Linked DNA regions of Homo sapiens: region 2 is linked to region 1. Evidence: promoter capture Hi-C in 16 types of primary human blood cells and fetal thymus (Javierre and others, 2016). All regions are on one chromosome and are shown on one strand. Each heading gives the region's core, a stretch centred on a gene start or on the middle of the fragment in contact. The rest is flanking DNA. Distances are from core to core; before and after follow the strand shown. Region 1 holds the start of C1QTNF4 (C1q and TNF related 4). Region 2 has its middle 6.7 kb from the start of NUP160.

Region 1 (5,118 bases), core at 1,386-3,885:
TCCATCTCAAGAAAAGAAAAAAGAACCCGTCTCAATTTATATATATTTTAATGTTAATTTTTTTAACTTTTTTTTTAAGTGATGGGGACAGCTGGGCGCGGTGGCTCACGCCTGTAATCCCAGCACTTTGAGAGGCCAAGGCGGGCGGATCACGAGGTCAGGAGTTCCAAGACCAGCCTGACCAACATGGTGAAACCCCGTCTCTACTAAAAATACAAAATATTAGTCGGACATGGTGGCGCGCTCCTGTAATCCCAGGTACTCAGGAGGCTGAGGCAGGAGAATCGCTTGAACCCGGGAGGCGGAGGTTGCAGTGAGCCAAGATCGCAGCATTGCACTCCAGCCTGGGCAACAGAGCGAGAGTCTGTCTCAGAAAAAAAAAAAAAAAAGAGAGAGAGAGATGGGGTCTCACTCTGTTGCCCAGAGTGGTCTCAAACTTCTGAGCTCAAGCGATCTTCCCACCTTGGCCTCCCAAAGTGCTAATATCATAGGCGTAAGCCACCATGCCCAGCCATACCCGTCTCAATTAAAAAATAAATAAAATAATTGTTGTTTAAGACCAGCCTGGGCAACAGAGTGAGACCTCGTCTCTACAAAAAATTTTAAAAAAAATTAGCCAGGCATGGTGACCTGCACCTGTAGTCCCAGCTACCTGGGAGGCTGAGGTGGGAGAATCACTTGAGCCCGCAAGGTCAAAGCTGCAGTGAGCCAAGATCATACCATTGCACTCCAGCCCAGGTGACACAGCAAGACCCTCTCTCAAAAATAAATAAAATTGTGGCTGCAAAACAAGAGAGGAGGGAGCAGGGACTATAACCAGCCTAGGGCTTTTCTCTGGATCCTGCTGCCACCTCTTCTTAACTCCCATTCTGGAGCCCACCCATCTGCCTTACACCCACCAGCTCATGGCATCATCTTTCTCTATATCCCTTTCCCAGTGGCTTCCTCCCTATCCCAGTCCCCTGATGCAAATCCTGATGTCATCTGCCCCAGCCACCCATCTCTACCTCAACCCTCACTTCTCTGGTGAGAACTCTTGTGGATCCAGGGAGTGTCAAATCCCAGCCTGAACCAAACCTCAACTGAGATTATATTATCCTATAATATACCTTCTCCCCTCCCCTCCCCTCCCACCATTGGAATCACCCTCAGGAGAGCAGCTCCACTCTTCTCATCCAGAAGGGGCCCATGGCCCTAAGAAGGGCCATAGATTGCCATAGGTTGGCTTTTGGCATCCCCCAGCTCTCCTTCGACATCCCTGTGTGGCTCATCCCACCCTTACCCTGCTTCTTGTCCTCCCCACAGTCCTGTGGCCCAAGCTTTTCAAGTTGGTGAAAGAGACAGTTGTGATCTGACAAGGGCTAGACAGGTGCTTCACCCTCTGTCACCAAATACCCTCATTATCCAGCCCAAAACACCTCCATTCATTCCTTTCTATTCTGGCACATATTCGTTAATTCATTCCATCATTCACCTAACACCCTTGAAGCAGAGCCAATCACCTCTACCAACATCTTCCTAGAGACAAATAGATTAACTGGGGTGGGGTAAACTTTGAGAGCTCCAAAAGGAAAGCTCCAGAGGACGGGGGTTCTGCAGGGGTCCAGGCCTCTCAGGGACCACAGAGCAGACCTGCAGCAGAGGCAGAATTAGAGCCCATGGCTCTGGAGTCAACCAGGGCCAGGCAGAGGGCACCAGCTCTTGGCTGCTGAAAGTAGAGCTCTTCAAAAGTCATCCACTCAGTCAGCATCTACTGAGTGCCAGGCAGTGTCGTCACCTCTACAGCCGTCAGGGGAGAGAACAGCAGCCTAGAGAAAGGGAGTCTGAGCCCCCATCCCACGGGCTCGAAGCCCAGAGTAGAGGCCAGCACTAGTGCCTCTGGTGAGTATTACCATGGGAAGACCGCTGTTCCCAGCCCGGGTGCCCTGCTGGACTCTTGCTAGCCTGGCCCCAGCGAGGCAGGGCATCAGTTTCCCTCTCCAGAGGCCTTTCTTCCCCACCTATTGCCCTCTCAATCCTGTCCCTTCTTGCAGGAGCAACCTTCCCAGCAGAAAATTCCATTCTGCCCCAAGGACTCTCCTCCTTACTGCCCCTCACCCCGGGGAACGCAGGCTGCCCCTCTGATGCCTGCAGACTCCCTTCTCCCTCTTTCCTAACCGACCGTGGGCATTTTCCAATTTGGAGGTGAGGAGGAAAAACTAGGTTATTTTCAGCTCTTCCTTTACTGGCAACATTGACCCATTTATCCTTCTCTTCCTTCAGACCTCTCCCCCAAGGCCACTTAGCTTGGACATCTGTCCCAGCCAAAATCTCACCTTCCACTGTCCTTGCAGCCCAAAGGCTAGTCCAGCCTCTGAGTCCAGCTCTAGCCCTCTCTCCCCACACTAGGAAGGAAGCTGGACTGTAGAGCGCTCTGGGCCACCCCGCGTTAGCTGCTGCCTCTGGCCTCAGTTTCCCCAACTGCTCAGATTAATGATGCCTGCTCTCTAGACCCAGAGGACGAAGCTCTAAGGAGGTCACAGATGAGGAAGGGTCCAGTGCTCGGCGCAGACTCCGTGCGGAGCCCCTAGGCCCCGCAGCTCGCCCCTCCCTCTCCCCTACTCCCCTCCTCTCCCCCTCCCGTCTCTCCCCCGCCTCTTCGCTCTCGCTCGGCTCCCTCTCTAGCTGACCTTCCCTTTCCCTCACGCCTCCCCACGCCCGGCCCCTGGCCCCAGCACCCTGTCCGCTGCCGCCTCAGAGCCGGGAAAAGCAGCCGGAGCCCCCGCCGCCCCTGCCGCAGCGCGGGCGGTCAGCGCGCAGCCCGGCACCCGCAGCCTGCAGCCTGCAGCCCGCAGCCCGCAGCCCGGAGCCAGATCGCGGGCTCAGACCGAACCCGACTCGACCGCCGCCCCCAGCCAGGTGAGGGCAGCTGAGGGGAGGCAGGGAGCCGAGGTTCCCCCTTTACTGGAAGCGAGGGCTGGGGAGGCGCGGGGAAATTGGGTCCTTTTTCCTTGAAAGGAGGACCTGGGAGCCTTTTCGTGAAACAGGCACAAGGGCTTTCATTCCAAAGGGATGGATGGATGGAGGGAAGGTCTCGGGGGAGAGGGATTGGTTTTTGTTTTTTAAAAATAAGGATTAATTGGCTTCTGTGAAAGTGGGACTTCTTGGAAGGATGAGGGGCTTTCAAGGTAGGTTGGGGAGGGGGCTCTGGCAGGGCTTGAGGGAAGGGTTAACTGGTGAGTGGCAGGGCAAGGGGGAACTCTGCGATCCCCTCAGCCTGACATCGCTGCACCTCCCGCCTTGGCTCCGGGGCTCTGGGTCTCTCCAGCTCTGTGTCCCAGTTTTTCTCTTTGAAGATGACTATTTTGAACCCCACCTGGACAGAGCCAGGAACAGCCATTTCCTTCCCTGGAGCTATGACACCCACCTGACACACCCTCCCACACCTCTGACCTGCTCAGGGAAGGGGGTTCAGGGAAGGACGAGGATCCAGGGATCTGGGAATTGGGCAGTGTGGGTGAAACGGAGGCTGGGTACTGGGTGCACAGGAAGACCCTTGGCACTGGTGGGGTGCACCAGCCTTGGTCAGGAGGTTGCTGGGCAGCTGCTTCTGGGGCAGGACCCACTAGGAAAGCAGCGGTATGGAAAAGCTGAGCTGTTTTCCGTGTTCCCAGAAGACAAAACACTAGAGAATGTGTTTGCTTGCTTTTGTTTGGTTTTGCTTTCTGTCTTCCTCACCCTGGATCCCAAGACTCATTCCTCTGATCTCCTCTCCTAGTTTTGCAAAAAGGTAAACTGAGGCACAGAACAAATTGGCTGGACATACCTGTGTCTAGGAGGGAAGAGTGACAGGAAGGCATACGGAATTTGAGTCAAAAAACCTCAGTGCTCCATGGGTGACCTTGGGCCAAAATGCTTTCCCTTGTTGGGCCTCAGCTTTCTCATCTATAAAATGGGAGACGGCCCACCTGTCTTGTAGGTTTGCCAAGACCATGTGTCTAAAAGAACTTTGTAAAAGGGAATGCACTGGACACTTGTGAGGTGCCATCTTCACCACTGTGGATGGCCCCTTCCCTCCTCCCTGTCCTAACCAAGGGACACCTAACTAATCCATAGGACACCTTTGTGAGAATTACAAAAAGCACCTCCTCTGGAAGGAGACAGCATTCAGTTGGCTAGCAACTTGGGGTCTTTAGTATGAGAATGAGAAGGTGGCATACTTTACGCCAGGTGCTGCTCTAACATGTGGAGTGTGAGCTAGATTCTAGCTGGGACGTTCTGCACATCTACACCTGACAACCCTTCTCAGCAGGTCCCTGCTGTCTCTAAGAGACACAGAGCTACACATACAGGGCATTTTCTAAAGCAGCCCACATCCCAGGCTGTCTCCAGCTCATTTCTTTCCTGTTTTGTTTCCACATCAGGGCTTTTGGGTATTCAAGCCCCAAAGCACGTGCCCTACTAGGAAGCAGGATGGAATCCCTACATCAGAGAGTGACTCCTTTGAGTTAAGCAGTGCCTTCACCAAGCTCTCAGGGGTAGGAGTGACTGAGTCCCTAAACCCTTACGTCAAGAACTGGACCAGATCACTTTTGTCAGGGCAACCGACAGAAGCATCTGCACACCTCAGCACTGCCGTTGACAAACCATGTTCACACCTATCTCAGCACACCCCCACAGCAAGCCTGTGTGTGAGGTCTCTTCCCCATTTACATGGAGGAAGCCATGCCCAGAGAAGTTAGGGAACCTGCCCAAGGTTTCACAGTGTGAGTGGTAGAGCCAGGACCTGAACCCAGATCTGGCTATCTGTCCTCTCCAATCCATCACTCCCAAGGAACAAAGCTGCTGACTTCACAGCCTTGCCAAAGCCCTGCTGGAATTGTTGCTGTCCCTGTCCATCCCCAGTAGCCCCTGGCTCGCCACTCCTTCTTCTGAGTAACCAGCCTCCAAGCAAAGAGAAAGGAGTCACCTTCTCTTTTACTCTGATTTCAAGGGGGAGGAAGCTACCTCAAAGCCCAACTGTTCTCGCCTCCTCTGTGCAGGAAGGGCCCCTGGTGAGGCCAGGAAAGGGGTCAGGGAGCAGCGATTTCCTTTCCTGCTCAGATGGGGCTTAAACAGTAACGGTCATGCAGAGCGTTG
Region 2 (5,118 bases), core at 1,471-3,970, 260 kb before region 1:
CTAGATATAGGTGAGAATCTCTACTCAAATATCTGAATTTCTAGCCTCTTAATTGTATTGTACACTTTTATATTAAAAAGCACTTCTGAGGCCAGGCACAGTGGCTCACACCTGTAATGCCAGCACTTTGGGAGGCCGAGGCAGGCAGATCACTTGAGGTCAGGAGTTCAAGACCAGCCTGACCAACATGGTAAAACTCTGTCTTTACTAAAAATACAAAACAATGAGCCAGCCGTGGTGGTGCGAGCCTGTAATCCCAGCTACTTGGGAGGCTGAGGCAGGAGAATCACTTGAACCTGGGAGGCAGAGGTTGCAGCGAGCCTTGATCATGCCACTGCACTCCACCCTGGGTAACAGAGTAAGACCCTGTCTAAAAAAAAAAGCACTTTTGGACTCTATACATGCAAATAACCCTTTTTACTGGATCAACTTTTGATCTTGATTTTTTTTTTTTTTAAACAGGGTCTCTGTTGCCCAGTAATGTGATCTCAGCTAGCTCACTGCAGCCTCAACCTCCCTGGGCTCAGGTCATCCTCCCTCCCACCTCAGCCTCCAGAGTAGCTGATACTACAGGCATGTACCACCACACCTGGCTAATTTTTGTACTTTATGTAGAGATGGGGTTTCGCCATGTTGCCCAGGCTTGTCTCAAACTCCTGTGCCCGCCTCGAGTTCGAGACCAGCCTGGCTAACATGGCGAGACCATGCTTGGCCCACCTTGTTTTTTAAGACTAATATTGGCCAGGCGCGGTGGCTCACGCCTGTAATCCCAGCATTTTGGGAGGCCAAGGCAGGTGGATCACCTGAGGTCAGGAGTTCAAGACCAGCCTCGCCAACATGGTGAAACCCTGTCTCTACTAAAAATACAAAAATTCGCTGGGCGTGGTGGTGAGCACCTGTAATCCTAGCTACTCGGGAGGCTGAGGCAGGACAATGCTTGAACCCAAAAGACAGAGGCTGCAGTGAGTGGAGATGGTGCCACTTCACTCCAGCCTGGGCAACAGAGTGAGACTCTATCTTAAAAAAGAAAAAAAAAAGACTAATATTAAACATATTTTACTGAGATGAACTTAACTGCCCCTACTGAGGCTACCTGCACATCTGGTTCTTTGTTGATGCCTCCAATTCCACCACTAGAGTTTAATCCCTTTGAATGAGATGGTAAGTGGAGTATATAGATAACGTGCCAATTCCAGTCAGCTGATAGCTCTCTGAATCACTCTGTTGAAAATGATACCGAGGCAGTAGAAAAGGACTCCCACAACTGATTAGCAAGAGAGGGAGGAGGGGCAATGCCCTACCAGTTAAGGTAGTGTATGTTGCCATGACTTACCTCTGGGAAAGGCAATTTATGAAGTTTTTATAGTCATCAGCACCTCAGTGTGAATTACTATAATGTCAACTCATTTCCAGTTATACCAGAGCTAGTTTTAATAGGTAAGGCATTCATATTTTCAGAAGTAAAACTCAGAACATATGGTTCAAGCGAGGATTTTTTTTTTTTTTTTTGAGATGGAGTCTTGCTTTGTCGCCCAGGCTGGAGTGCAGTGGTGCCACCTTGGCTCATTATGGCACCACTGCAACCTCCACCACCCAGGTTCAAGCAATTCTCCTGCCTCAGCCTCCCTAGTAGCTGGGATTACAGGTGCATGCCATCATGCCTGGCTAATTTTTTTTATATTTTTAGTAGACGTGGGGTTTCACCATGTTGGCTAGGCTGGTCTTGAACTCCTGACCTCAAGTGATCTGTCGCCTCAGCCTCCCAAACTGCTGGGATTACAGGCGTGAGCCACCTCGCCCACCTTAGCAAGAGTTTGTTTTGATTTTGTGAATTAAATTACATGTAAGCTCCTACAAAGATACAGAAGTAACATTTAACTAATCATATAATGAATCATAATTGAAATTTACAGAAAATTGGCTGGGCACAGTGGCTTACGCCTGTAATCCCAGCACTTTGGGAGGCCAAGGTGGGGGATCACTTGAGGCCGGGAGTTCGAGACCAGCCTGGCCAACATGGCGAAACCCTATCTCTACTAAAAATACAAAAATGTTGTTAGAGGTACACGCCTGAAATCCCAGCTACTAGGAGGATGAGGCATGAGAATTGCTTGAACCTGGGAGGTGGAGGTTGCAATGAACCAAGATTGCACCTTATACTCCAGCCTGTGTGACAGAGTAAGACTCTGTCTCAAAAAATTTAAAAAAAAATTTTTAAAAGGCCAGGCATGGTCGCTCACACCTGTAATTCCAATACTTTGGGAGGCCGAGATGGGAGGATCACCTGAGGTCAGGAGTTTGAGACCAGCCTGGCCAACATGGTGAAACCCCGTCTCTACTAAAAATATAAAAATTAGCTGGGCGTGGTGGTGCACGCCTGTAGTCCCAGCTACTTGGGAGGCTGAAGCAGGAGAATCACTTGAACCTGGGAGGCGGAGGTTGCAGTGAGCAGAGATCAGGCCACTACACTCCAACCTGGGCGACAGAGTGACACCCTGTCTCAGAAAAAAAAAAAAAAAGTAAAAAAAGAGAAATTTATAGAAAATATTACCTGAAAGGTGAAAACAATCCAGGGTGTATAGTTCCCAAGGATAAGTCCAAAGCACAGGAGGGTCAAGTCTAGGTGGGAGCCCTGGGCTTTCAGGGCCCCTCAAAGGCCCTGGAGTCTAAAGTCATGGTGGTTTCCTAAGTGGGTAGAAAGAATACTGAAAACGGAATTGAGAAGTCACTGACATACTTCATTTATTCCACAATTCTGCTTTTTTTTTTAGAAACAGAGTCTCGTTCTGTCACCCAGGCTGGAGTGCAGCGGCACAGTCATAGCTCATTATAACCTTGAACTTCTGGGCTCAAGGGATCCTCCTGCCCCAGCCTCCCAAGTAGCTGAAACTACAGGTGTACACTACCATACTTGGATAATTTTTTTTTTTTTTGTAGAGATGGAGTCTCACTATGTTGCCCAGGGTGGTCTCAAACTCCTGGGCTCAACCAATCCTCCTGCTTCAGCCTCCCAAAATGCTGGGATTGTAGGTGTGAGCCACCATGCCCAGCTGATATTTTTAACCTATGGGCAAAATGAAAGTAAAGCCATGTTTTCCAAAATATATTCTCAAAGAACAATGGTCCAATGAGTTGCCCCTTGAAAAGAGTATTCTGTATGTCAAAGAGTCTGGAAAGCAGTATCATGCATAAGGCCTTCTTGGAACTTCACAAAGCTATTATATTAATGTCTTTGAAAAGTTCTTCAAGAAAGAAATATGTTTAACTTTATTTATCATCATTTCCCACACTTGTTTAAACCACCAAATTCTTCTTTCAAGGAGTAGCTATCAAGTTGGTTATGAAAATCTGCTTAAAGTTCAATTAACAGTATTGTTCAGCTGAGCGCAGTGGCTCACACCTGTAATCCCAGCACTTTGGGAGGCCAAAGTGGGTGGATCACGAGGTCAGGAGTTCAAGACCAGCCTGGCCAAGATGGTGAAACCCTGTTTCTACTAAAAATAAAACAATTAGCCGGGCGTGGTGTCGGGCACCTGTAATCCCAGGTACTCAGGAGGCTGAGGCAGGATAATCACTTGAACTCAGCAGGCAGAGATTGCAGTCAGCTGAGATCATGCCCCACTGCACTCTAGCCCGGGCAACAGAGCGAAACTCCGTCTCAAAAAAAAAAAAATAAAGAAAAAGTCCGGGCGTGGTGGCTCACGCCTTCGGGAATCCCAGCACTTTGGGAGGCCGAGGCGGGCGGATCACGAGGTCGGATGTTCAAGACCAGCCTCACCAACATGGTGAAACCCCATCTCTACTAAAAGTACAAAAATTAGCCAGGTGTGGTGGTGCGTGCCTGGAATCCCAGCTACTCAGGAGACTGAGGCAGGAGAATCGCTTGAACCTGGGAAGTAGAGGTTGCAGTGAGCAGAGATCGCGCCACTTCACTCCAGTGTGAGCAACAGAGCGAGACTCCATCTGAAAAAAAAAAAAAGTATTTAAATAAAACTTGCTGCACAATATTGGTAACATTCTGCATTTTGTTTCTAAACGAAGTCACTACCTAACCACTAGATGGCAATATGATTCAATTTATGTTATAACCATCCCCCAGAACATTAATAGTTCAAAGGGTATTTGAGTTTTCCAAAAATGCATATATGCACTTATTCATTCATTTAATTATTCCTCAAACATTTATTAGGTAACGTGAAGTTCCCGGAATTCTGATGGATGTTGGAGATAAGACAGTGATCTAAAGCTAAAAAGTGTTCACTGTCAAAAAATGTAATTCCTAGATTCCTATAAAACCGAAACATGCCTCATCAATTTAACATTTTTTTCTGAGAAAAAAATGAAAAAACATTACTACATTAAATATGTACATTGAGGCCGGGCGCGGTGGCTCATGCCTGTAATCCTAGCACTTTGGGAGGCTGAGACGGGTGGATCACTTGAGGTCAGGAGTTCGAGACCAGCCTGGCCAACATGGTAAAACCCCACCTCTACTTGAACCCAGGAGCTGGAGGTTGCAGTGAGCCAAGATTGAGCCACTGCACTCCAGCCTGGGCGACAGAGTGAGATTCTGTCTCAAAATTAATTAATTAATTAATTTAATTTAATAAAAATAAAAATAGCAATCATGTATTTAGCTCATTAATATGCAATTTGGACAGGGCTCAGTGGTCATGACTCATCTGTGCTCTACAAAATATCTGGGACCTGGGGACTTACCAGGCATCTCTCACTTCAAGTAGAATTAGAGTCTCTGTGTGTGGTCTCTCCCTGCAATCTGCCTAGGATGGCCCCGGCGTAGCCAAATTTCTTACATGGCAGCTTGCTTCCCCTATAGCCAGTCTTCAAAGAGAGATGTAGACTCTCTTAAGCTAGGCTGGCACAGCATCACTTTTGCTGTATTATATTCCTTATAGCAGTTACAGAACCCTCCAGATTTAAGGGGAGGGGACAAAGAAGGCTACACTTCTGGATGGGAACAATGTCAAAGAATTTGTGGCCATCTTTCTTTTGCCATATGGATATATGAGATTTGGGTGTTGGGATTAAAAGAGAAAAGTCCAGGGTAATTACTAGATTTCTAGACTGGGCCACAGTGGTGATGTCCACACAGATATA

Evidence for each region. The method cuts DNA at HindIII sites, captures the fragments that hold promoters and counts their contacts. A CHiCAGO score of 5 or more calls a contact.
Region 2: a fragment that was not itself captured here is called in contact with the fragment with the promoter of C1QTNF4 in region 1 in 2 of 17 cell types (M2 macrophages and megakaryocytes); the score reaches 6.2 in M2 macrophages.

The regions. Positions count from the first base shown.
Region 1 is chr11:47,591,928-47,597,045 of GRCh38, reverse strand. It overlaps C1QTNF4 (C1q and TNF related 4), which reads left to right and starts at 2,635. Exons shown (of 2, transcript NM_031909.3): 1 at 2,635-2,898. The HindIII fragment of the contact is 4,016 bases long and covers 1,322-5,118 here.
Region 2 is chr11:47,852,488-47,857,605 of GRCh38, reverse strand. No RefSeq gene overlaps it. Among named protein-coding and RNA genes, the nearest start is that of NUP160, 6.7 kb to the right of the region's middle. The HindIII fragment of the contact is 5,986 bases long and covers 1-5,118 here.